Regions from separate parts of the Homo sapiens genome. Here all the other regions are linked to region 5. Evidence: promoter capture Hi-C in 16 types of primary human blood cells and fetal thymus (Javierre and others, 2016). All regions are on one chromosome and are shown on one strand. The core of a region is centred on a gene start or on the middle of the fragment in contact, and the rest is flanking DNA. Distances in the headings are between cores, read along the strand shown.

Region 1 (3,936 bases), core at 378-2,877, 92 kb before region 5:
TGTGGGAGGGGAGTCCTAGAACAAATCCCCCAGGGATACAGAAGGATGGCTGCATATCCTGAGCATTTCCCCTTATTGAAGTTAAAAAAACATGTTATCTCTTTATCCCACGGTAGGAGAGGTAACAGTTATTTAATAGAAATGTTAGCTGGGCAACAGCATAGTTAGTTATTAATGGCTTGACTCAAGAGGCTGCCTCACCAGGAAGGCAGAGATTTTTGTCTATTTTGTCCACTGCTGTATGCCAAGCAACTAGCACAGTGCCTGGCACATATAAATGCTCAATAACCATTTATTTAATGAATGAATAAATGAGTGAGTGGGTGGGTGGGTGGATGGATGATTACAATGGTCTGAGCTGAGCCCCTCCCTCTCTTGCTTGCATCCTCCTAGGAGGAAAGAGTCCAGGTTTCTAACCTGAACCACCAGGTTCCAAGACATCAAGATCTATCTGTTGGTCAGGTGATTTTGCAAGGCAGGCGAGTGAATCACAGAAGGGAAACTTTCTCATCCTTAGTGAGTCCTGTGAACTGTGACTCACAAGCCTTCCCTTACTCTGCAGCTTAAAACCTCCCAGGCCACCTTGCCCTCACTCCTTGGGCAAGTTTTAGATGCCTGTCGCACCAGGCCTGCCCTGGCAGCTGTGCCCAAGGTTTGGCGAGGCACTGGAGCCAGCTAAAGTGTTCTCAAGGCCGTGGAGCTGCCTCTGATCAGCTTGGCCCCAACGCACAGCCAGTGTTTTCCCAGGATTGGCACCTGAAGCTTCCTGTGCACAGCAGCCCCACAACCAGAGTTCAGCAGCAGAGGCGAGGGGAGGATGCTAGATGTCCCCAGAAGACTGAGGTTCCTGAAGGTCCCAGAAAATCTTGCCTGTATAGCCGGGAGGGTGAGCACAGTTGGGCAAGAAGAAGGCCTTCCTCAGTGTTCCCTTGCCGTCCCCTGTCTGAGCACCCCAAACCAAGCCCAGCCTGGAGGTTACTGCAGCACCTGTGCAGGAACATGGAGGCCTGATGCAGGGAGGGGCGGTGGTCCCAGGTCCTTAAGGTCAACTCAACTGTTTCTCCAGCTTTAGGGCCCTCCTTTCAGCTTTACAGTCCGGGATCCTGATGTTCCACAAGCCTGGCTCTCCTGGGTCTGAATGAGCTCAGGAAACCTGGGGCTCCAGGCCAACACAAACACGCACAGGGTTTACGTGTGAAGTTTTCCACTGAACTATATAAAATTTCTGGTTATGTAGGTGAAACATAGTTGCATATCAGCAAATTTATGTTATTCAACTTAATCATGAAGGACAAATACTTCTAGCAGGTTTCATGGTGAGGCCAGAGGAGGGTGGGCTGAACTTTAACCCCCTCCCTTCCCCTTTGCTCCTTCTCCCTGAAGGACCCCACTTCGCTTTCAGTAGCTGGGAGCTTGTCTCTGGGAAGGAATGATAGACAGTGAGGCGGGGGTGGAAGCAGGGGGCCAGGCACTGGATAGGAACCGTTGGTTCTGGTTCTCCCCTGGCTCCCCCAACCCCAGACCCTTGAGAGCAGCTGGGGCAGCCATAAGAATCAAGAGCCCAGAGATTAGAGGAAACCAGACAGCAGAGGGAGAAAGATAAACTCAAATAAACTCTACCCCATTCCTCTTGAGTCTTGGCAGGACAAAAAGTGCCTGCTGGAGAAAGAAACTTGAGCCTAGAAGGATGGTATTATTTAATTGCCTAGGGTCAGAGACATTGGTAAAAAAAAAAAAAAAGCCTCGAGTTTGGTAAGCCTCAAGAGCTACAAGCTAAACTGGGTGAGGAGGGCGTCTTAAACACCACTTCTCCTCGAAAGAGCACTGCAGGCTGTCCCTATAGGGGAGCCTCTCTTCCCCAATGTCAAGGAAAGGTCACCCAGCAGAAGCCCTCATTTAACGCGCGTGTCCCATAAGTGTGCACCAGAGGGCAGTATAAACCCAGGTATGGAAAACGGGATGCGCTCATAGATTGTCTACAGTTGACTTCAAGTAAGGGGCATCACAGAGCCTTGTATAAAGACAGCGCTAGGGAAATAGGTGTTGAGTGGATTACTGACACACGGCCACCGTCAGAACCCTTCAATGGTAGGCAGAAGAAGCCTGGCAAAGATAGGGGAGAGAGAGCATTTGCTACCTCAGAACTGACTAACATGGCCAGCTCCCAAATAGCCAGAGGGCCTCCCCATCAGTTCAGGCCAGGAAACAATGACCAGACACCTGCTATGTTCCAGGCACTGTGCTAGGTACAAGAATTTAAAGGTGAGTAAAACACAGTCCTTTCCCTGACTGAGTTCCCCTGATAGCTTTGCCCATCTCTTTACATTTGTTTATCTCATTTAATCCCAACCACAGTGAAGTGCTAGTAGAATCATCCTCTGTTTACAAATGAGGAAAGACAGACTCAGAAGGCAGAAGTAACTCATCCCACCACCGTAACTGGCAAAGCTGGAGTTTAAATCCAGTCTCTTTAGATTCAGAGCCTAAGCTTTCACCACTGTGCCAGAGCCTTCTTATATGTGCCCTCAGCAATGAGCAGGTCCGTTTGTCATCTCAGTACTGGCCAGGCTGTCAGGGCTACATCCTAGGCTGCCAGACCGCCTGGGAGAGGCCTGGGAGGACGCTTGTCCCAGAAACACAAAAGTCCCTTTGGACTTGGATTTCTGAGTAACATAAATCAATGACTAAGATTTTAAAATGTGTGTAACCTATGTAATATATAAAACAGACATGCAGAGTAAGGACAGCAGCTTCTGTGAGTGGAATGCCTATACTCTACAGAACAGGAAAGGAAAAGGCTGAATTACGTGAGGTTGAAGTGGAATTCCTTCAATATGAGGTTTAACCCAATATGGACTAGGAAGTCACTGCAGATCTCTCATCAGAGGAATGATGAGGCAAAAATGGCATATGCTGCCCATCCTTGTATCCCTCCCAGGTCCACTCCCACTGTCTCCACCTTGTTTTGTGCCTGCCTGGGAGGTTGGCCTATGTGGACTGCACCCCCCAAATCCCATAGAGGCACCCCCAAATCCCATAGAGGAAGGCAGGGAGGGAAGTGAAGTCAGGGTATTTACCCCTCAACCCCTAGCTCCTGTCCTGTTGGCCTCAGTTGTCTATGCCCCTCCCCTTAGGGCCACGGCCCCTGTCAGGGGTGGGCTCCACACAGCTCTCTTTGGGGACTACTGACTGCTTCCTTCCCTGGACCTTGCAGGCCTAGGAATAGAAGTGACTCCCAGCTGTTACAGCCCTGAGGCATTGCCCCATTCCCTGCTGCTTTTCCTAAACCCCACCTTCACCTCTGTAAATAGTGCCTTTATTATACCCTGCAGTTACTCAGCTGGAGGGTGCCATTTCTTTCTTAGTAGAACCCTAGAGCTCTAGGGAGATTAGTCTGATGAGGTGGGAAGGCTGCTGTCTGAGGAAGAGGGCCAGGCAGAAGGCACTTAATGGATATGAGAAGCCAACCAAACAGAGGAGGCAAAGACAACCCCAAGACTTACGGCCTGAGGACACCAAGTCTTGGAAAAATAGATCTAATTTTACATGGGTCTCTGTGTGAACTGGAGAGGAAAGAGGGTTAGCAAAAGAAATGGTTAAGCTGGTTTCAGCTAGGCTGAGAGTGGGAGATGTTGGCCTACCAACAGGAAGTTGAATGAACTTTTTCTGGTGCCTGAAATTGGTACCTGGGGCTCCAAGTTGGAGACGAAGAGGCATTAAATAATCCATATTCTAAAGAGAACGAACATTCATCCACAGAAGGCCAGACTATTACTGGAGCCTATTAAGAGGCTGCCAAATCTCTGAACATTGCTGAATATTTGTTACTTTTGCAGAAAAAATAAGCAAATAAATGTTATTGTGGTCTTCAACCCAGCCAATACTGTGAAAATAAGCATTATGACGTTATAAGAACAAGCGCAGTCTTCAGAATCA
Region 2 (4,000 bases), core at 113-2,612, 64 kb after region 5:
CTTCCACCCTTGCCAGTCTTTTCTTGGCATAAAAACACAGAGACATGGAAGCCAATGGCATGTGCTATTTATTAGAATAGTATCCACAGATGGGGAGGAAAACAGAGGCTGTGCCAGGATGGGTGGTCAGCAGGTAGGTGTGAGCAGGACAGCAAGCATGGAGGGTAAGAAACGGGCTACAAGTCCCTTCCCTATTCTTGGCCTCCCCAGCCAGGGGGACCCTGGGGAAGCATCAACTACTCTTTAGTAAAATATACTCTGAGAGAGCGATGGTGGGGGAAAGCCAGCCATCAGAAGCCGGGTTGGGGAAAAAAGAGAAAGCCTCTGAGCTGGGGGAGTGGGCACGGAGGTCCCACTGCTGCAGTAAACACGGCACCTGGGACCCGGGCACTGCCACCTGGAGCCCATTTCATCAGCAGAGACCGGAGAGCTGAGGGCTACAAGAAGCACCCCACCCTCCTGGGCTAGAACCTCGCTGCTGCTGCTGCTGGTAGAGATGACCAGGCTCCTACAGCGCCTCTATCCCCACATGGTCATCTGCAGCCACTGTGGAGACAGGAAGCAGATCCCAGGGTGGGAAGAGACGGGGGCAGGATGCTGGCCCGGGGACATCAGAGCTGGGTGGGGGTGGGGTTGAGGGGCAGGCAGGTGCAATCCTGCAGATTCCTTCCCACCCTTCTCCAAGTACCTGTTCCAGGCTCAAGCAAATATGGCCAGTATTCTTGGGGTCCATGGTTAGAAAGAATGCTGCGTTACAGAGGAAGCGGGGGAGAGGGGCTGAATGCTAAGTCAGTGTTCCGAAAGAACCACTCCCAACTAGGTAGGAAGGGGCGACACCAGGTGTTCCTGGCTGTTCCCCACATAAATCCCCTAGCCAAGTGGGGAATTAATGATAGCAACTCACATAGCCTCACCAGGAGCCAGGCCCAGTTCTGATTGCCTTCCATAGACTAACTGGTTTAACCTGCACCTCAGTCCTTTGAGGGCAGTACTATTATTATCCACATTCTAAAGAGGAGGGAATGGAGGCACAGAAAGATTAAGTGACTTGCTCAAGTCACCTCTGCCAGCAAGTGGCGGAGCTGGGCTTTGAATCCATTTCATGTGTGCCTTGTAAGGGGGAGGGGATCTGGAGCAGCACCCATCAGGGTGGGTGTTTGGGAAAGGGCCCGCGGCCCCTGGCCTAGGCTGGGGAGTGGGTAGATGCCTAACTCACTGAACATGGTCTTTAGCCTCAGGAAACAGCTGATGAAGCTGTCAAAGTCTATGATCAGGTCATCATCTGCATACCTGGCCACCAGGACCTGCATTACCTTGTTGTTCAGCTTGATGCCTGAGAGAGGGAGAGAGAAGTGGGGAGGGGAAAAGTCTGGGCCTCTGGACACTGCCATCCTCTTCCCTGCCCCAAGGCCCACTCCTGACCCTTGGCCACCTGCTTTCTCAATAACCAGGCGCATCTCATAGGAGTTCAAGGTGCCTGAATGGTCCTGGTCACACTCTCTGAAGATGTCCTGAAGAGACAGACAGATATGGTAGGGCCACATGCATGGCATGGTGGTTGAAATAATGAAATACTGAGGCCGGGCGCGGTGGCTCATGCCTGTAATCCCAGCACTTTGAAAGGCCGAGGCAGGCGGATCATCTGAGGTCAGGAGTTTGAGACCAGCCTGGCCAACATGACGAAACCCCGTCTCTAATAAAACTACAAAAATTAGCTGGGTGTGGTGGTGCATGCCTGTAATCCCAGCTAGTCAGGAGGCTGAGGCAGGAGGCGGAGGTTACAGTAAGCAGAGATCGCACCACTGCACTCCAGCCTGGGCAACAGAGTGAGATTCCGTCTCAAAAAAAAGAAAAAGAAATACTTTAGGACAGTTGGCTCACAGCAGTGGCCTAAGACCCCATGCCCCCCTCCAACCCTGGCCCACTCCTGATATTCCTATCATCTGGTGACCTAAGGGTTAATTCCAAGCATGGGTTGTCGGGGGCACTGGTGCCCTGCCCAGCGCTCTTTGTGTGCATCCTTCATGACTAGATGATACCTGAGCTATACTTGTTATAAAATATTTTGACTGGGTAATATGCCACACTCCAACAGACCCTTTTCATGTGTGTGTGTGGTGTGGTTGTGTCTGTATGTGAGTGTGTGTGTGTGTGTGTGTGTGTGTGGTGTGGTTGTGTCTGTATGTGTGTGTGTGTGTGGTGTGGTTGTGTCTGTATGTGAGTGTGTATGTGTGTGTGTGAGTGTGGTGTGGTTGTGTCTGTATGTGAGTGTGTATGTGTGTGTGAGTGTGGTGTGGTTGTGTCTGTATGTGAGTGTGTATGTGTGTGTGTGTGTGGTGTGGTTGTGTCTGTATGTGAGTGTGTATGTGTGTGTGTGTGTGGTGTGGTTGTGTCTGTATGTGTGTGTGTGGTGTGGTTGTGTCTGTATGTGAGTGTGTATGTGTGTGTGTGAGTGTGGTGTGGTTGTGTCTGTATGTGAGTGTGTATGTGTGTGTGTGAGTGTGGTGTGGTTGTGTCTGTATGTGAGTGTGTATGTGTGTGTGAGTGTGGTGTGGTTGTGTCTGTATGTGAGTGTGTATGTGTGTGTGTGGTGTGGTTGTGTCTGTATGTGAGTGTGTGTGTGTGTGGTGTGGTTGTGTCTGTATGTGAGTGTGTATGTGTGTGTGTGGTGTGGTTGTGTCTGTATGTGAGTGTGTATGTGTGTGTGTGAGTGTGGTGTGGTTGTGTCTGTGAGTGTGTGTGTGTGTGAGTGTGGTGTGGTTGTGTCTGTATGTGAGTATGTGTGTGTGAGTGTGGTGTGGTTGTGTCTGTATGTGAGTGTGTATGTGTGTGTGTGAGTGTGGTGTGGTTGTGTCTGTATGTGAGTGTGTATGTGTGGTGTGGTTGTGTCTGTATGTGAGTGTGTGTGTGTGTGAGTGTGGTGTGGTTGTGTCTGTATGTGAGTGTGTGTGTGTGTGTGTGGTGTGGTTGTGTCTGTATGTGAGTGTGTGTGTGTGTGTGTGAGTGTGGTGTGGTTGGGTGTGTGTGTGTGTGTGGTTAGGGCTTGGGTTCTAGCTTCCCCTCATTAGTTCCATCTCTCCTAAGACCCTCTTTTCCTCACCCCTGGAGGCTGCCCCTTTAGTGCCCTTTACCATCCATTTCTTGAGTTTTTTCCACAGGATCTTGAACTCTAGAAGCCCCAGCTTGCCAGAGCCATCTTTCTGGAAGGTGGTCAAGGACAGCAGAGAAGGAGTGAAGAAGGCATCCCAGGGGATAGGGAAGCAGCGGGGGTTCCTGAGGGGACACACAAGCCCTGGGGTTCCGGTACTGTAGCAGCCAGAAGAACTGGCATCTTCTGCTACCCCAGAGCCTAATCCCCATCAGGGAGGAGGACGTGGCTGGCCCAGGGTGGCCATCTCTGGGCCAGGCTTGTGGGCAGGGGACAGGGCCAAGAGAGCACTGGACAGGAGGATACATCCATGAGGTTGATCATGCAGCGGCAAGCATCCAGGCCAAAGCCCTTGGTCTTGAAGCTTTTGACTGTGAGGAAGGGAAGGGGTAGAAAGGAGAGACAGGGTAAATGAGGTATCGTGGGGGCACTGGGAGTGATCAAGAGGGGCACAAAATATGGGGGAGGGGTCGTGTGCAGCAGGAGTGGAAGACTCACATTTGATGGCCATCCTGTTGAGCAGCCTCTGGAGCTCATACACCCCTATCTCCTTGCCCTAGGAAGGGGAACTGTGAACCCCACTCGGGCCCCTCCAGCCCCTCATCCCCCTCCTGTCAGCCCTCCGCTCGTGGCCTGCTCACCTCTCCTGCCACTATCTTAAACAAATGTAGGAAGTCCTGGTCCATGTCATCCTCAGAGACCTTTTCCTGGGGGCCGGGGAGCAGGAAAGGGACCTGGTCAGAAAACTTCTTTCACAGGCCCAGGAGCTTCCTTCCAACCCCCAGCCCTACAGTCTCCCCTCACCTCTTGGAGTTGCTCAGCATAGTTGACTTCATCCAATTCCCTGGGCAA
Region 3 (3,829 bases), core at 374-2,873, 110 kb after region 5:
GTCTTAGGGCAGGGGGCGGAGCTGAGCCTGGGAAGACAGGGAGGGGTCTTAGGCCTGAGGACTCAAGGGTAAGATGAGGGGTCTCCACGTCAGGGGAGAATGGGTCAGGAGCCAGCTGCCTCATCCTGATCTTTTCTTTCTATGCCTATTAGAAAAAATGGCATGATTTCATTTGGTTAGAGTTTTGAACTCAATATAACTGGCTTAGGTTCGACGATGGGTCAGAGTAGGAAGTCAAGTAAATAGTAGGACTTCTGGGTTTGAGTTACCTGCCTGGCCCCAGCCACTCCTGCTTATTCTCATTTCTCTTCCCCATACCATAGTCCTCTCTCCAGTTATTTGCACAGGGATCGCCTGAGTGTTATGAGCACTACAACTCCCAGAGTGCCATGCTCCTGCCTCTGAAGCAGGGAAGGCTGGGAAAGCTATGCCCTACGGCAAGCTTTTCCACTGGCAAAGGAGGGGGGAGTGGGTGGGGGCCTCTTAGCCTGCCTGGGCAGCCAGGGTGCTGCCTGGTTGCCTGCAACTGGCCGGCTGCATTGATGCTCAGAGTGGATGGGGTGGGCAGGAGGAGAAAAGGGACAGCCAGCCTGAGTGCCTGGGTTCTCAAAGTGCTTGGGGACAGAGCAGAGTGGGGCCCTGGGGAGGATCCCAGGATAGCGGAGAAGTGTGGCCTCAACAGATGCAGCACTGCCCCACCCATTTTACTGGGGGGTCCCTGGGGGACCCTTCTGCTGACAACACTGAAGCTCTGCCTCGGGGGCGGGCTGTGGAGCAGGGGAGGAGGTCCTCAGGGAAGAAAAAGGAAAACCAAAGAGAACAACAAAACTAGAAACAGTGACTGCAACTTCGGGAGCAGCATCCCTTAGCCCCCAGGGGGACTCAGAGGGTTTCTCCTGCCTCTTCCTAACACTTCAACCACAGGGCAAGAGGCAGAAGCCCTCAGATGGAGGGGAGGATGGAGTTGTTTATGTGTTTCACTTGGTCCCAGGGAGTCTCTGCAAAGCCTGGATTAGGAAGACTAAAGGAGTGTGTGCTGGTGTGTTATGCCTCTTCCTTTTCCAGTCCAAGCTGCCTTTAAAAACACACTAATTTAGTAATTGTATTGGGTACCATTTGTCCAGTGCCCTCAGTTTCAAGAATAATATATTACATGATTTCATTTAATCCTCGACGATCCTGAATTGAGTGTCACTGACATTTTAGGGTGGGGGCACAGGGCCTCAGAGGTTAAGTAACTTTCCCAAGGTCACACTGCTAATAAAATGAGGGACCTAGGACTCAAACCTAGCTCACCTTCTTTCTAAAGCTAGAATGATTTTCAGGGCACCACGGTGCTTTTCTGATGTTCCTAGAACAGGACTCGGCAGACCATGGAAGCTTTATAAATGCTCATTAAATGTTCTCAGGCCAGAGAACCTGTGGGTGCTGTGGAAATGTGTGTGTCCAGGTATGTAAATGTGTGTTGATGTGTGGACCTGTGTCCAGGAGGAGCTAGGTGACTGCATGGCAGTCCACGGAAATGAAGGGAGTTGTTGGCTTCGAAGTGGGGGTGTGAACATGGGTGTGTCTGGGAGCCCGGGTATGTAAACATAAGATGCACAGAACCCTGGGGCACTATGGGAGGTTAAAGGTAGGTATAGGTATCTTGGGTTGGGGGGACTCTAACTAGTCCCCCTTTCTCAATTCTCAACTCCAATGTACTCCAGCAATCTCAACACTCTATTCCCACCCCTTGCCTGTTTCTCTCTCTGAATTCCAAGGCTCCATCAGATCAGAATGAAATGAGAACAAGCCCCAGAGTACCATTCCTATCAACTCCTGTCTTCTCCACACCAAAGAAAGGTAGAGCATTTTGGAAGCTTCTACATGAAGTGGCCCCAGCAGGGTGGACAGGATCTAGCTAGATGGTTAGTAACTGAAATCACCATGCTCCTCTGCTGTCCGCCTCCTTGGGGTCACAAAGTACTCTCCCCTCCACAACAGCATTAATCTTCCCACCTGCATGGGAGGAAGGCAGGGCACACTCAGATCACTATCCCCATTTTACAGGGAGGAAGCAGGAACCCAGTAGGGGAAGCAACTTGCACAGTGACAGGACAGGTAAGGGGTGGAGCCTGGGCTGGCAGCTCTGCCAGTTGACAGGGCTGCTCCAAGCTTTTAATTGTGGGGGTGGGGTTGCTGGGTTGAGTTTCATCAAGGGCAGCTGCTCTCAAAGCCAGCACTGGGCTGAGCAACTGAGAAGAGGGAAGACATTGAGGCAGAATACCTTGGGGATGGGAGGTGGCAGTTCTTCCACTCCACGAGGTGCCTGCACCAGCTATATCCCAGTTTCTCTAGTCTGATATTGAGGTTTTGGTTGAGGTGTGTCCAGAGAGTGATGGAGCATTTTACTTCTAGCTAACTTTTTAATTTTACCATTAAGGAGTGTGTGCATGGTGGGGGTTGGAGAGCTATAACTTATAAGCTTTTTTTTGGGGGGGTTGTTGTGTATTTTTTTGAGACGGAGTCTCGCTCTGTCACCAGAGTGGAGTGCAGTGGCGCGATCTTGGCTCACTGCAACCTCTGCCTCCTGGGTTCAAGGGATTCTCCTGCCTCAGCCTCCTGAGTAGCTGGGACTACAGACACATGCCACCACGCCCAGCTAATTTTTGTATTTTCAGTAGAGACAGGGTTTCACCATGTTGGCCAGGATGGTCTCGATCTCTTGACCTCATGATCTGCCCACCTCGGCCTCCCAAAGTGCTGGGATTACAGGAGTGATATAAGCTTTTTCAGTGGAGTTACTGGGCAAGATTTAAGTTAGGGCTTTGGATCAAAGCAAGGCCATGTGGTCTGAGGGGAGGAGGGGAAGATGGAAGCGAGCTCTGTTACTACGAAACCTGAGTCTCAGTCTTCCAATCTGTAACAAAGAGATACAAATATCCTTACTCTACCCCTACCCACTTCAGAGAGAAAGGCAAGAATATATCCACAAGTGAGCATAAAAGTAGTAGTAGGTGCCAGGCACGGTGGCTCACACCTGTAATCCCAGCATTTTGGGAGGCCGAGCTGGGCAGATCACAGGGTCAGGAGTTCGAGACCAGCCTGGCCAACACAGTGAAACCCCGTCTCTACTAAAAAAATACAAAAATTAGCTGGGTGTGGTGGCATGCGTCTGTAGTCCCAGCTACTCGGGAGGCTGAGGCAGGAGAATCACTTGAACCCAGGAGGCAGAGGTTGCAGTGACCTTAGATCATGCCACTGCACTCCAGCCTGGGCGACAGAGTGAGACTCCATCTCAAAAAAAAAAGTAGTAGTAGGCAGGGTGGGGTGGCTCACCCCTGTAATCTCAGCACTTTTGAAGGCCAAGTGGGGAAGATACCTTGAGCCTAGGAGTTGGAGGCTGCAGTCAGCCATGATCATGCCACTGCACTCCAGCCTGGGCAAGAGAGCAAAACCTTGTCTCGAGGGGAAAAAAAAAAAAAAGCCAGGCATGGTGGCTCACACCTGTAATCCCAGCACTTTGGGAGGCTGTGGTGGGAGAATCACGTCAGCCCAGGAGTTCGAGACCAGCTTGGGCAACATAGCAAAACCCCGTCTCTACAAAAGATACCCCCCACCACCAAAATTTAGCTGGGCATGCTGGTGCATGTCTGTAGTCCCAGCTACTCCGGAAGCTGAGGTGCGAAGATCACCTGAGCCCAGGGAGTTCCAGGCTGCAGTGAACCAAGATCATGCCACTGCACTCCATCCTGGGCGACAGACAGAGACCGTGTCTAAAAAAAAAAAGGAAAGAAAAAAGAAAAACAGAAAAAGAAAAAAAAGTAGTAAAATAATAGTATTAAAT
Region 4 (4,292 bases), core at 1,099-3,598, 98 kb after region 5:
AGAGTGCTCAAGACCACCTAAGGCTGCTAGAATGTTCAGGGGAGAACTGTCCAGGACCCCCAAAGACAACCCAATGAGACCCTCAAAGAACCCAAAGGCTGACAGCCCCAGGAACACCCAGAAGATTCCCCCACTTAGACCATAACTCGAGTTACCCCCAGAGTGTGACATGAGCCTCAGATACCTCCACAAACAAGCTTTGAGACCCTTCCCGCAACATCTCTGGGGGAGCCCAGGAACCTTTATCAGTGCCTGAGATGCCCCAAGTGTGACTCAAAGATCACCACAGATGGCCTACAGCAAAACCCCTAGAGTTTGTGCCCACAGCCATGGTGCATGACCTTCAATATATCCTCACATGATTCCCAGAGAAGATGCCCATACAGAACTCCACAGTTACATCTCTGAATAAAAGCCTGAAATTTTAGAGATGTTCCCAGAACTTGTACTGCTAAACATCCCAAAGTGTGAGTCCTTTAGCCTCCCCGCCCACAGACACCCCCAGAGTTATAAGGTCAAGAGCCTCCTACACATACCCAAAAATATGGGCTCTAGAGACCTTCAGGGATACCCCTAGTAGCCTCCAAGACACTCCCTAAGTATCACCAAGACCTCCCTAGAGATGGTTCCCCAAACCTCCCAAGTGGAACTCCAGAGACGCCCACAGTTAGTCCCAGAATATGGGCACAAGACACCCCCATAGAAACTACCAGAATGTGGAGCCCCAAGCCCCAAATATACCTTGAGGATGATCTTAGCATCCAAACAGGTTACCAGAGAGTGAACACCAACACAGACCCCAGGGACTTCTACCATGTATACACACCCAAGACACCTTGTGGGTGCCTTTGGGGTAACCCCGCCAGATCCTCTCTCTTCTGCCCCCTCCAGGAGTTGGAAGCTTTGTTGCACCCTCCCATGGGGCTGGCAATGTCTCTCAAGCATACCCACCCCTGCTGTCTGGTCTCTTTCCCTAGGGGCCCCAGTCACTCACTCAAACCGAATAGCTGCCTCAGCCAAGAATTTCTTATCAAAGAGCCAGCGGAAGAAGAGGTCCAGGCTGGAGGGAAGCAGAGGAGAGATGGGGTGGGAGCTGGAGTGGTACAGAACACCAGGGGAGGGGAAGTCCCTCCTCTGTGAGCCACTGGGGAGACTCCCAGACATGGGGTGGGTAGCTCAGGAGGCCTGGGGGTGGCCAGGCTTCCCATCTTGGGCCCCTTGCTTTGTAGGGGAGGTAGGGAGGCTGAACTGCTCTCCTCTCCCTATCCTGCTGTCCCCCTACCCTGGCTCCTGCCCCATCCTTCTCAACTCACCTGCTCAGTCCCAGCGAGGGTAGGAGCAGCACCATGAAGATGAGGAAAGTGTAGCACTTGTGCATGGTTGTCCTGTTCTCCCCAGAGCTGGAGGGAGGGGAGCAGGGAACGGTACAGGTCAAGTGAGCCCAGGCCCCAGACTTGCTCCCCCAACAAGGACAATGTCCAAGGAGTGTCCCCTGGGAAGGGTGGGCCTCCCAAGGTGAGGGTGCTGGGCACTACCCCTTCCCTACCAGCTGTGGGACTGCCCAGGGCCAGGAGCCTGAAGGGCAAAGTGCTGCCCAGAGAGGATGGGTCATTGAGGGCAGGCCACAGCGAGGTGTGGTGTGAGTGGAGGCACCTTACCGTGTCCAGTGGGCTTCAAAGAAGGCTGAGTAGTAGACGATGGTGGGAAGGAGGGCCGAGAAGCACCACAGCAGCAGGGTGGGGAAGAACTGGGTGATGATGGGGTTCTGCAGCAGGGCACAGGGGGGCGTCAGGCAGGGCAGTCTAGGGGGCCCAGGTGGCTTTGCTTATGTGCCTCCTCCCCAGCTGGGCCCTTGGCCTCACAACTCTCAGGGCTCCCATGTTGGAAGCCCAGAACATCCGGAGGGCTGGGGTGAGGGTGGGGGCCAGGGCCATATGTATAACCCCAGGGTGGATAATACTGATAGTCAGCATTTGCTGAACATCTACTATGTTCTAAGCAGTGCTGATGTACTTGCCATGTCTTAATCCTCACAATAATGCTGTTACCCCATTTGACAGATGAGTAAACTGAGGCAAAAAAAAGATTCAATAGCTTCCCTAGCTAGCAAGCCATGAGGTAGGGATTTGAATCCATGCAGTCTGGGTCTTATCTATTATGGTATTATCACTCCAAGTGATTTGCAAACTGTCCTTCTTCAAACTCTGAGGTTCTAAAGAGGTATGCTCTATGCGTGGGAGGAGAGGTGAGGGGAGGCCAGGCAGACATGCATGCCACCCTACTGTCATCGGAGCAGCCCTGCTTTTCCACACTGGGTTTCACACCGATAAAGAGATCAGAATCCAAGTCCAAAGCCACTGATCTAGTTGAACCTTTCCATTTTTTCAGTTAGACTGAGGGGTGAGGGAAGGGGACTTCTCTGAGATCAGGACTAAATGCAGGCTCTCTCTCTTCCCTGGGTGTTTCTCCAGGTGTTGCACACCTGAGGGTGGCCTCTCTCAGGGGGAAGGTGGCAGGGAGCCCAAGGGAAGTGCACACAGGGGTTTTTGGGAGCTGGTTGGTGGCACGGGGTTGGAACAAGCAGAACGGGCTGGGCTGGGCAAGTGGAAGAGGGATCAGGGCCTGGTATCTGTGTGTTGTGACCCAGCGTGGAAAGTGACAGGGGCATGAGGCCTCACGTTGAGGTACTCCACAGGCTTGGTGACGTTGAACTTGTCCATGGTGGTGATGATGATGGCTGGAGTGGTGAGGAAGAAGAGGAGGATGAAGAGGACGACATTGATGACCAGGCAGCGCAGCCACCAGATGAAGCCTCGGATGGAGAGGTGCTCCCTGGCAAGGTGGGGAACCGGTCAGTCCAGGAACCAAGGGCAGGATTGGCCCCCAGTGACACCAAGACACTCCCTCTCCTCCGCCTACCTACTGAGCCCATCCCAGGCCCTGGAAAGCCTGCCCTGACACCTGTTTGCTCACCAGTAGATGTTCTGAGGGTCAGGGGCATAGGACACGGTCCAGTTGGAGATGTGCAGGGACTCGCTGCAGGATGAGGGGCGTGGCTCCCCACGGCAGGTGCAGCCCTGGCATTTACACACGTTGAAGTCCTTCAGGATGCTAGAAAGATGGGCACTGGTTACCACAGGCCCACCTGGAGGCCACACTGCTGGCAGAAGGCCATGAGCACAGGGGTCAGGGAGCCCTGGAGGGCTGCTCAGGGCCGAGGGCCGAGTTGGGGACTCACATGGCGGTGATAGTCTCATTGTGGAAGGTGACAAAGGCCATGCCAAGAGGCTTCTCATTCACCTTCTCCTTCTCCCGCTTGTAGTCTTCCTTCAGCTTCTGCTCCAGCTTTGTGTAGTACTCAATGGCCTCCACCTTTGTGGGAGGGTTAGGGACAGGGCCTCTAGTTGGAAAGCCAGGCTGGGGCCTGCAGCATCCAGCCCACGCTGACTTGGGGCTTCCTACAAGCCAGGCACTGCTCCTCTAAGCATTTTTTTTTTTTTGGAAACAGCGTCTCGCTCTGATGCCCAGGCTGGAGTGTAGTGGTGGAATCTCAGCTCACTGGAGCCTCAAGCTCCCAGGCTAAAGTGACCCTCCCACCTCAGCCTCCCAAGTGGCTGGGAATACATGTGTGCAGTACCATGCCTGGCTAATTTTTGTATTTTTTGTAGAGATCAGGTTTTGCCATGTTTCCCAGGCTGGTCTCAAACTCCTGGCTCAAGTGATCCACCTGCTTCAGCCTCACAAAGTGCTGGGATTACAGGCATATGCCACCGCACCCAGCACCTCTAAGCTTCTTTATATGTATTACTCACTTTACCCTCACAACACTCTCATAAGGTGGGTACGTTAACCCCATGAGGAAACTGAGGCACTGAGCAGTAAGCAACTTGCTCAAGTCCCCAGAGTCAGTGGGTACAGCACAACATTGTCCTTTTGGCTGACATTTTCTAATTTGAGGTTTGAAAACCTGGTCACTGTAGGGACATTAGACAAACCCAACAGTGGGAACTGAGGCTTCAAGGATTCCAGGGACAGGTGGGGACTCACTGAGGGCAGGGCCCCAGCCTTGCCTGCCCAGGACCTGTCCAACTTCTCCCGACTCAACAGCCAGCCCGCGTCATACCTGCTCACAGCCTCGCACCACACAGCAGCAGAGGTGGCCACAGGGCTTGGGGTTGATCATGGTAGGCACGTTCTCCTTGCTCTGGAGGTTTGTGAAGTACAGCTTTCCCCGCTCGGCCTTCTTCCTGTGGGACCCAGATGCCTGGTCACCTACATCTGGGGCTGGGGCT
Region 5 (3,893 bases), core at 218-2,717:
GGTCATATCATTTGTTAGGACCTTAGACAGTGAGTTCAGACTGGTTTAACCGGAGTACTATCCCTTCCCAAGACTAAAAATGCATTCTCTTAAAGATCTCAGACTACACACTAAGTGGGAGGCCTGAAAATTCAGAAGGAAAAAGAAAATAAGCTAAATATTCTTCAACCAAATGTCACAGAACCCACCTACTTAAAGAATGGTGACCAGCAGCCTCAGCATCATCTGGTAGTATGGCAGAAAAATCATAATGTTGGTCCAACCCAGGTATCTAGAGATCCCAAGTAATCCTTACACAAATTTAAATGTGAAAATCACTACCTACAGTTCTTTATTTGGGGGAGATCAAAGTGACTAGTTTAAGATAAAAATGGCACTAACTTTAAACTGCTCCCCCTGAGGTGTCAGTTCCTAAGACCAGTCCAAGGGCGGGACACTCCTGCCCCATAGGGCAGGGAGGAATAACCTGGGATCCATACGATACCCACCGGAGGAGCAATTAAATCCGGACAAAGAATTCTTAAGCCAAAAGCTCCACCACGACCCTTTCACAGCACAAAATTACAGAACAGGACCAAACCCAAGAAAGATGGTGGCCGTAGCCACCAGGCCGACACTCGTCACTGCCGGACATGCGTCGGCCAGGACCACGCGAGGAGGGGGCGCCGCAGTGCACCCTCCCTCGCCCCAGCATCCGGGCACTGGGGCGGGGCGCCAGAATCCAGAAGCTTCCAGAACAATCTCAGCTCTCGAGGAAGGGCGGAGGAAGGAGCCCATGAATCTTCCAGAACCTGCTCCCCTCCCCGCCCCTCCTCCACCGGGACTGCAAGAAAGATCTGGAAGGAGGGAGTATCGGGTGCTGGAGACCGAAAGCTCTCTTCCCACACCGTCAACCCTCCCTCACAGAAACAAAGCACCCAAGAAGGCTTTAACAACGCGTCCGATAAGAGAGGTGACAAAGCCAGTCCCACAAGGCCGTGCTGAGTCACCCGAGCGGGCACCCCCGCCACCCTGCGGTCCCCCTCCGACGCCCCGTAGCCGCGTCCGGAAGTGGAGGGGCAAAAATGGCAGCGTCCCGGGCCGCGCGGCCACCACGTGCAGCTGCCAGCCGCCCACTGCCCCAACCCCACAGCCCACCTCGCTACGGCCAGCAGGCGCCGAGAGAAAGCCCCACCCCCCAAACACACTAGAGAAAACCGAGGAGGACTCAAAAAACCTCACCCACCACTACCCTCACCCTATAAAAATCCAGAGCGTTATCCACAAGCCACCCCGACATCTAGACTAAGGCTCCCTAAAGGACAGAAAAAAACAAAAACAACACGAATACAGCACTAAAGGGAAAGAAGCCTAGCGGAGATCTCAGCCTTACCTTGAAAAGAAAAGGATTATACGTAATAGTGAGCAACGTAGGCTTGCTTTCCGATACCCAGACAGTCCCAACACTGCGCCGGAGTGACTCGAGAGAGCTACTGCGTGCCCCAAGTCGCCCTATATAAGGCGAAGCACAGTACAGCCGCCCTCCTGTAGATCCCTCCGCCTTAAAGGAGTATGATTGTCAACCCCGCACCTGCCGCCACCAGCCCACCTTGACGTCATGGTCCGAAAAAAAGAGGGGGCGGGGAAGAACCCAAGCAACGGATCCGCCCACACATTTGCTTGTGATCACAGCCCCATAGTTTCACGTCTAGGACATGACTCCATCAAGAGCGGGGATGAGGAGTGCTCATTTGGCATAAACGGTGTCTCTACGGGCGAGGAACCCACTGACCTCCCTAAACACTTGTGGGGCAGGCGTCCCCACACCCAAGGGCGGGACTGGGGGGGACACCGAAAAAGAGCGGAGGCAGCTAACCACGCGGACCACCGCTCCCAGACCCAATCTTCTTCCTAGCATCTGCCCTACACATCTCGCGTCCCGACAGAGGGACTGGCATTCGGGACCCAACCTTGGGTAGCCCCAGATCCCGACTCTCGCAGGAGTAGAGGAAGGGCGGAGGGTTCGCGCTGAGGGGCAGCTCAGCGTAGGGGGAGGGCGCCGGCCGGGGCTGGCGGGGACTCTTTGCCGACATGCGGCGGAAGGCGCGGCGGCGGCACTGCGGCATTTCCAGCAGTTTCCAGGCCTGTCTCGGCGGTCCCGCCCCCTCCCCGCGAGGCTCCGCCTCTCCGGCTGCGGCCGGGGCAGGGTTTTTGCAGCGACCCCACCCGGCGACCCGCTCTGACCTGTCCGAGAGACGCGGGTACCAGCCCAATCCTCAGGGATGGGATGGAGGGTTGGGGAGGGATCGGCTGACCCCTCCTTCCCCGCGTCAATCACACAACACCCAGGCACCTGGGGCGGCTCTGCGGGCGTACACTTTTGCAGACTGAGAGTGGAGTACCTGCGGGGGGGACCCCCCTCTAGCCCCTGCGGCCGCCACGTACACGGAGCACGGGGACATGCGCCCTCCCTACGCAGGCACGTCAAGCCCTTTCTCAAGCTGGTTCGCTTTTTTTCCGCCCACTTCGCTCCTGCAGCCATTTGGACCTGGGAAGGAGGGAGTCTCTGGGAACCAGTGCAGGGCAGCCGGAGCTCTTGGAGGCCGCGTGACGATGCCGGCCACAGAGCGGCTGGCCAAGTTGTTCCCCTTCAGCCTTGGCACCAGAGCCCCTAGGCCATGCCCCTGGCCAGTGAGCTGCCGTGTCTGGCCTGGCTCAGCCGTTTTGCCTGCCCTCCAGTTGGCAAGCTGTCCTTGCCTTTCCAAGGCCTCATCCGAAAGCCTGCTGGACCCACAACCCCTCCAGGAGAGAATAGCCACTCCCTGCTCTGTGCCCTGTAGATGTCCATCTGCTCCCCTTCCTGGCCCACCCCTGGGATGCTTGGGAAGAGTTTCCCCACAGCCACCCACATCGTCCTCCCTCACCAGCCCTGTTGTTACCCAGTCTACGATTCGTTAACAAGTTTTGTTCATGTGTTGAATACCAAAGAACAAAGGGTGTCCCTTGCTTTCCTCTTCTTTGTCCCTGTCCACTTCGCCATGCCTGCCATCACCATCCCGATTGGATATCCTTTCTCCCTTTCATTATGGTCTGCAAAAAGCCTATGGCTGGGAGAAGTCTATAAGAAGGGGCGTTGGGTGCTCTATTCCTGACCAAAACCGCAAACCAGTGGGAGCGTGATCCCTTAACGTGTCCTCTCCTTCTAAGCAGAGCTCATTAAAAATCTGCTCCCCAGTTCACAGAGAGCATTCACAAACTCTCACTCTCCTGTGAGCGGATGAAAGTCAGTGTGCACATTCTGTCAACAGGGAAGTGGCTTCAGTGACTCCCAAGGCCCGTCTACTCAGAGTCCTTGCTGCACTAGCTCCCTTTCTGCTCCAGAAATGGAGCAGGGATGTGATCTCACCCCTAGGACCTAAATCCAAAGCAGGAATCACTCCTGTGGATGGGCTTCCCCTGAGCTGGATCCTTTCTGTGTCAAGACTCGACGGCTTCCTGAAGACTTTCTAAATGGGAAAATCTCAAATGTTACACCAGCATAGAAATTCCACTTTCTCTGCTGGGCACAGTGGCTCATACCTGTAATCCCAGCACTTTGGAAGGCCGAGGTGGGTGGATCACCCGAGGTCAGTAGTTCACAACCAGCCTGGCCAACATGGTGAAAAACCTCGTCTCTACTAAAAATTAGCTGGGCGTGGTGGCACATGCCTGTAATCCCAGCTACTTGGGAGGCTGAGGCAGGAAGATTGCTTGAACTCTGGAGGCAGAGGCTGCAGTGAGCTGAGACCATGCCATTGCACTCCAGCCTGGGCAACAAAAGAGAAACTCCGTCTCAAAAAAAAAAAAAAAAAAAAAAGGGGGCTGGGCGCGGTGGCTCATGCCTGTAATTCCAGCACTTTGGGAGGCCGAGTCCA

Evidence for each region. Contacts are between HindIII fragments. The CHiCAGO score rates a contact against its expected background, and 5 or more counts as called.
Region 1: a contact is called between a fragment that was not itself captured here and the fragment with the promoter of HSP90AB1 in region 5, in 4 of 17 cell types (M0 macrophages, M2 macrophages, M1 macrophages and 1 more). The highest score is 6.4, in M0 macrophages.
Region 2: a fragment that was not itself captured here is called in contact with the fragment with the promoter of HSP90AB1 in region 5 in 1 of 17 cell types (fetal thymus); the score reaches 5.1 in fetal thymus.
Region 3: a contact is called between a fragment that was not itself captured here and the fragment with the promoter of HSP90AB1 in region 5, in 1 of 17 cell types (fetal thymus). The highest score is 6.7, in fetal thymus.
Region 4: a contact is called between a fragment that was not itself captured here and the fragment with the promoter of HSP90AB1 in region 5, in 1 of 17 cell types (fetal thymus). The highest score is 5.2, in fetal thymus.

Annotation. Positions count from the first base shown.
Region 1 is chr6:44,336,697-44,340,632 of GRCh38, reverse strand. No RefSeq gene overlaps it. Among named protein-coding and RNA genes, the nearest start is that of SPATS1, 4.0 kb to the left of the region's middle. The HindIII fragment of the contact is 1,726 bases long and covers 765-2,490 here.
Region 2 is chr6:44,180,452-44,184,451 of GRCh38, reverse strand. It overlaps CAPN11 (calpain 11), which reads right to left. Exons shown (of 23, transcript NM_007058.4): 15 at 3,953-3,992; 16 at 3,790-3,855; 17 at 3,647-3,704; 18 at 3,455-3,519; 19 at 3,132-3,200; 20 at 1,433-1,511; 21 at 1,217-1,333; 22 at 689-747; 23 at 51-546. The coding sequence ends at 520. Among named protein-coding and RNA genes, the nearest start is that of CAPN11, 24 kb to the right of the region's middle. The HindIII fragment of the contact is 4,304 bases long and covers 1-3,514 here.
Region 3 is chr6:44,130,389-44,134,217 of GRCh38, reverse strand. The region is part of intron 1 of TMEM63B (transmembrane protein 63B); the gene reads right to left. Among named protein-coding and RNA genes, the nearest start is that of TMEM63B, 4.7 kb to the right of the region's middle. RefSeq lists enhancers at 1-87, 496-665, 88-1,053 and a silencer at 2,898-3,057. The HindIII fragment of the contact is 482 bases long and covers 1,383-1,864 here.
Region 4 is chr6:44,147,332-44,151,623 of GRCh38, reverse strand. TMEM63B (transmembrane protein 63B) reads right to left here. Exons shown (of 24, transcript NM_018426.3): 12 at 4,124-4,247; 13 at 3,239-3,372; 14 at 2,974-3,111; 15 at 2,679-2,832; 16 at 1,659-1,765; 17 at 1,314-1,400; 18 at 995-1,060. Among named protein-coding and RNA genes, the nearest start is that of CAPN11, 9.3 kb to the left of the region's middle. RefSeq lists an enhancer at 2,285-2,454. The HindIII fragment of the contact is 2,889 bases long and covers 904-3,792 here.
Region 5 is chr6:44,244,675-44,248,567 of GRCh38, reverse strand. It overlaps HSP90AB1 (heat shock protein 90 alpha family class B member 1), which reads right to left and starts at 1,467. Exons shown (of 12, transcript NM_007355.4): 1 at 1,373-1,467. RefSeq lists enhancers at 368-417, 902-1,656, 2,411-3,165 and a silencer at 1,968-2,207. The HindIII fragment of the contact is 5,727 bases long and covers 731-3,893 here.